Regions from separate parts of the Homo sapiens genome. Here region 2 is linked to region 1. The links are contacts of gene promoters, found by promoter capture Hi-C in blood cells and fetal thymus (Javierre and others, 2016). All regions are on one chromosome and are shown on one strand. Each heading gives the region's core, a stretch centred on a gene start or on the middle of the fragment in contact. The rest is flanking DNA. Distances are from core to core; before and after follow the strand shown.

Region 1 (2,743 bases), core at 101-2,600:
TCTAATGAGAGGAAGAACTCAAGATACTCAAGGTCCTGGGGACTCCCAGGAGCCCAGCTCACCCACCACTCTGTCGGTTACCAGTTATGCCTCCCCAAGCAGAACATTACCAAGTCCACCAGCATCCGCATCACGTCCTCCGTCACCAGGTTCTTGGAGTAATCCACCAGGATATGCCCATGGTTGGTGTTGAGGGTCAAGCTGCAGAAAGATGGAGATGCTGCTGACCACACCCTGGTCTCCCTAGCGGGGAGCCATGCCCTAAGCAGGAGCTGTTCCCAGAAGAAACATCCTCCCTGACCCACGCCCCACAAGGGCCGCGGCCACCCAGCACAGTGGTGGTGTCTGTCACCTGCTGGCCCACCAGGATGATCTGCAACAGCAGCCCAGAGAAAGAAGCCATCCTCACAGACCGTAGATGCAGGCAGACCCTGGATGAGGAGCCCGGACTGAAGTGGGGGACCACCCCTTCCCAGGGCTTCCACTTTCTGCCGTAAGTTACTCAGGCACCCATCCAGATGACAGGGATGGCCATCGGGACGTCTAGCCCGGAGCCACAGTCGCTCCCCTCCCCCGCCTCCACCAGTATCAGTGATCAGAGCTCCCTTGGCCGCACTCCCGCCCATGATTTGCTCAAACACTCCTTCCCACTTCCCGGTCGTGCACAGGTGTCTTCTGCAGGAATCACGCCCGACGTCTCCATCCTTCCACCCAGCTCCCTCAAACACCCCCGCCCGGGCTGCCCGCCCTGCAGACGCTCCCAAGCTCATGTGGCCAGGAGCGGATGGAAAGGGACAGCCCTTTCCCGCTTGCTGCGTCAGCCAAGGCCTCTCTTCACAACTGCGAAAGGAGCCCCTGCTCAAATGGCCAGAGCTGCACGGGGAGGAGGAGGGGAAATGTCCCCACGGAGGGGCCCGTTTTTCCTCGTAACGAAGCAGACCCGGGGCCGAGACTCCCGGCGAGGCTGCAAGCCCCCAGGAACGCACTCCAAGGAGACTCCAAGGACGAAGTGCGGACTCGGCCTGGGCCCCAGTCCGTGGCCTGGAGGTCGGGGACTGGGGTCCCCGGGCACCGCTGCCCCCGCCTCCAGACCCCAGGCCCGCGTGCCCGGTTCCGGGCGCCGCGCGTGGCAGCCCCCGCCTCCGGCCCGCCCGCACCTGAAGTGGTTGAAGCGGTCCTTGTTGGCATCGAAGAGGCGGCGCAGGTTCAGCTCGGAGCGGTGCTCGCGGTACCATTGCTGCAGCTTCTGGAACTGGGGGTCCCGGGTGAGAGCGGCCATGGCGGGACTAGAAGGTACACTGAGTGAGACGCGAGCCGAGGAGGAAGGAGCGCCGGCAGCGCGCAGCAAGCGAGGCGCGTGGGCGCGCGGCGGCCTTTATGGCGCAGGCGCCCGGCCCGGCCCGGCCCGGCCCCACCCCTGAGCCCCGGCCCCGCCCCCGACCCGCGCCCCGATACCCAGGCCGGGTGCCCGCTGAGCGACCTTGCCCGCGGCCGCTGATCTGGGGCCTCAGCTCCTCTCTCCCTACCTCTTGCGCCGCCGCTTTGCTGGCCTCTGCCCGGAAGTGGCAGTGGGGAGGGTGGGCAGAGCCCGGGGATCACTGGAGCCCAGGTGTTGGAGGCTGCAGAGAGCTACCATCGCGCCGCTGCACTCCCTGTGCACTAGTCGGCTTCATTCATTCATTCGACAAAACTCTATAGATCGAACACCTTCCACGTTACAGGCAGTGTTCTAGGCGCTGTGGATACATATGTGCCAAATAAGCAAGTACAACAGATGATGTGTGTCTGCTGGTGGTAAGGGCTATTGAGGAAAACCAAGATGAAAAGGGTGCTGAGAATCGGGGTTGCAATTAAGAAAAAAGTGACTAGGCCGGGCGCGGTGGCTCACGCCTGTAATCTCATCACTTTGGGAGGCCGAGGCAGGCGGATCATGTGAGGCCAGGAGTTCCAGACCAGACTGGCCAACCTGGTGAAACCTCATCTCTACTGAAAAAAAAAATGCAAAAATTAGCCGGGCCTGGTGACACGTGCCTGTATTCCCAGCTAACTCGGGAGGCTGAGGCAGGATAATCACTTGAACCTGGGAGGTGAAGACTGCAGTGAGCCACTGTACTCCAGCCTGGGTGGCAGAGTGAGACTCCATCTCAAAAAAAAAAAAAAAGATGAGGTCAGAGAGCAAAAGGGAGGCAACAAGATCACGTAAGACCTTGTAAGTCATTGTAAGAACTCTGGGGCTGGGCACTCCTGCCTATAATCCCAGCACTTTGGGAGGTGGGATAGCTTGACGCCAGGAGTTCAAGCCGAGCCTGGGCAAGACAGCAAAACACTGCTTCTAAAATACTAAAAATAAATTAGCGGGGCATGTGGTGGTGCATATCTGCAGAGTCCCAGCTACTCGGGAGGCCAAGGCAGGAGGATCACTTGAGTCCAGGAGTTAGAGGCTGCCGTGATTACCACCACTGTACTCCAGCTTGGGTGACACAGCAACACCTTGTCTTAAAAAAAAGAAAAGAAAAGAAAAGAAAATAGGGAAAGGCTGACAACAAAAGAAATAAGTGGTCACTGAGGGGTCACAGGACTTTCCAGGGAACAGCCCTGTCCACATGGCCCTTTTCTAAGAACTGTCAACTCTTAAGATTTCACTGAGCTTCCACACCTAGCACAACCCTGGTAGTGCTGAACAGTATCTGTTCTACTGGAGTTCTTTTTTTGTTTGTTTGTTTGTTTGAGATGGAGTCTCGCT
Region 2 (2,700 bases), core at 138-2,637, 190 kb after region 1:
CCAATAAGGTAATAGTTTATGACTATGTGACTAACATCAAGAAGTAGATAAATTATGCCAATGAGCCAGACTTAGCAGATGATTAAAGAAATCTGTTAACAATTTACTTGTTTTTCTATTCTTCCACCAATCTCTTGATTTTAAGAACAACTTATTTTAAAGGCAAGTGGCTTATATAATCGTTCTTCATAAAGTCTCTTTTCCCAGTGCAGTAGCAACCTGGTTTCCATTTGAATGATTATCCAGGTAAGCTAACTAAATGTAAGAATTTATTTTTTATAAGAATTTCATTCATTTTAGCCTATTTAGGCATCCTACTCACTTATAGACGTAGGTGCAAACACAACTGGAACTATTCCATAAAATATTCATACATGTCACCACTGTGTAATTTCTTCCTACACCCTGAATGGAGGCTTCCTTTAAACTTTAAATGAAAATTATAATTGAGCTTGAGTCACAAAGAGTTTACCTCCCCAATAATGTTAATTATGTCACTAGATTTCATCCTCTTGCATCCCTACTCACTGAAATTCTTCAAGATTTCTTAATGTGAGGCAGGATAATTTAATTTTATAGGGAAATGCAATTGTGAACATGGAAAAGCATTATTTGGAGGTATACCCAAGATACTTCTACAAGAACAATAAGCTAAAATGCTAAATCATTTCCATTTACTCACTAACTAAACAACCTTTCATACCAGGAGCTCAGAGTCTGGAGGTGAAGGGGAAGGTGAAGACAGACAATAAACACATATGCAAATAAGCAAAGAAGATTAAGTGTAAGTCATGATCAGTGCTGAGAAGAAAATAAATTCAGAGCTGTGACACAGACTACAAACTGCAACAAACTGCAGAAACAAACTGCAACACAGATCATCTATAAACATACATAGCAGATTGACATCAAAGCCTTTCTAGGTTGCCTTTATGACTTCTTGACATATGCTTAGGTTCCGAGGATCAAAGCCCCTCAAACTTACCTGTTTCACTTTCTAGAACTAAAGCTAGTCTGTGACATCTCTAGCAGAAAATAAGGCACATCGACCATTTCACAGCACCTCTGCAATTAGGCTTTTGATTATGTGGTGTGATAACTTATCCACACTGAAACATTTTCAAAAGAGAAAACAGATTATTATTATTATTTTGTGTTTTTTTTTTTTTTGAGACAGAGTCTCGCTCTGTTGCCCAGGCTAGAGTACAGTGGTGTGATCTTGGCTCACTCTAACCTCCGCCTTTCAGGTTCAAGCAATTCTCCTGCCTCAGCCTCTCAAGTAGCTGGGATTACAGACATGCACCAGCACGCCCAGATAATTTTTGTATTTTTAGTAGAGACGGGGTTTCGCCATGTTGGCCAGACTGGTCTCGAGCTTCTGACTTCAGGTGATTCGCCTGCCTCAGCTTCCTGAAGTGCTGGGATTACAGGCTATCATTGTTATTTTTTAAGACAAGGTCTTGTTCTATGTTTCAGGCTGGAGTGCAGTGGCATGATCACAGCTCCTCTTGGGCTCAAGCAATCCCCCTGCCTCAGCCTCCCAAGTGGCTGGGACGACAGACATGCATGCCACCATGCTTGGCTAATGCACTTTTTAAAATTTTTTGTAGAAATGGAGTCTCCCTGTATTGCCGAGGCTGGTTTTGAACTCCTGGGCTCAAGCAATACCCCGGCCTTGACCTTTTGGAAATGTTGGGATTACAGGCCTGAGTCACCCTGCCCAGCCGGGATGTTTTTAATAATTATGCCAGAGCAGGCACAAACAAGGACTTTCCACCAGGGCAAACTAGGCCATATGGTTACCCTAATTATATACCACATCAAATGTAAATAGCCAAAAATTTCAAGAGTAGTTTATAGTTCCAGATATATTTAAATTATAATATCCAAGCCCTAAATTATAATATGGACAATATAAACCAAGTGAATCCCTTACTAAATATAAAGCTCTGAATATCTCACATTGTACACAAAATCAATTTCAGATGCATTATAAACGTCAATGTGAAAAAGCAAAGCACAAAAAGGTTTAAAGATAATCAAAGTATCTCTATGATGTTTTAAAAAAAGAAACACTAGCCATAAAAAACTGATGAACATGTTTACATTAAAATGAAGAACTTCTGTTAATTTAAAGAAACTACTAAATGGAAAAAATGTTTGCAATATATACATCCAACAATGGAGATATATTCAGAATACAGAACTCTAGAAAAAGACGTGTTTCGATTTAAAAAAGGAAAAGATTTCAAAGGCATTTTATGAAAAATGAAATCCAAACACCCAGATATGAAAAGCTGGTCAGCCCCATTTAGTAATGAGGGAAATGATTAAAACTAAATACAACTACATACCCACCAGGATTGGCTAGAATTGAAATATATGATACCACGTACGGTTGTTGGTAAGGGATATGAAACAAGAACTCTTACATACTAATAAATGAAGTAAAAACCACTAAACAACTACTTTGAAAAACTACCTGGCATTACCTGATAAAGACCAACATTCCCCATGTTCTTGCAATTCAAATTCTAAGTATATAATCTCAAGAAAACGAAATAAACATGCACCAGTGCACTTAAACAGAAATGTTCATAAAAGCATTGTTTATAATAGCCCCAAACTGCAAACAATCTAAATGCAATATCCAAAACAATGGCAGAAGGAATAAACTTGTGTTATATTCATGATGGAATA

The links. The method cuts DNA at HindIII sites, captures the fragments that hold promoters and counts their contacts. A CHiCAGO score of 5 or more calls a contact.
Region 2: a contact is called between a fragment that was not itself captured here and the fragment with the promoter of GPI in region 1, in 1 of 17 cell types (naive CD4 T cells). The highest score is 6.6, in naive CD4 T cells.

The regions. Positions count from the first base shown.
Region 1 is chr19:34,363,803-34,366,545 of GRCh38, reverse strand. GPI (glucose-6-phosphate isomerase) reads right to left here and starts at 1,350. Exons shown (of 18, transcript NM_000175.5): 1 at 1,158-1,350; 2 at 111-201. The coding sequence starts at 1,279. RefSeq lists an enhancer at 1-276. The HindIII fragment of the contact is 4,651 bases long and covers 1-2,743 here.
Region 2 is chr19:34,176,631-34,179,330 of GRCh38, reverse strand. The region is part of intron 1 of LSM14A (LSM14A mRNA processing body assembly factor); the gene reads right to left. Among named protein-coding and RNA genes, the nearest start is that of LSM14A, 5.5 kb to the right of the region's middle. The HindIII fragment of the contact is 8,937 bases long and covers 1-2,700 here.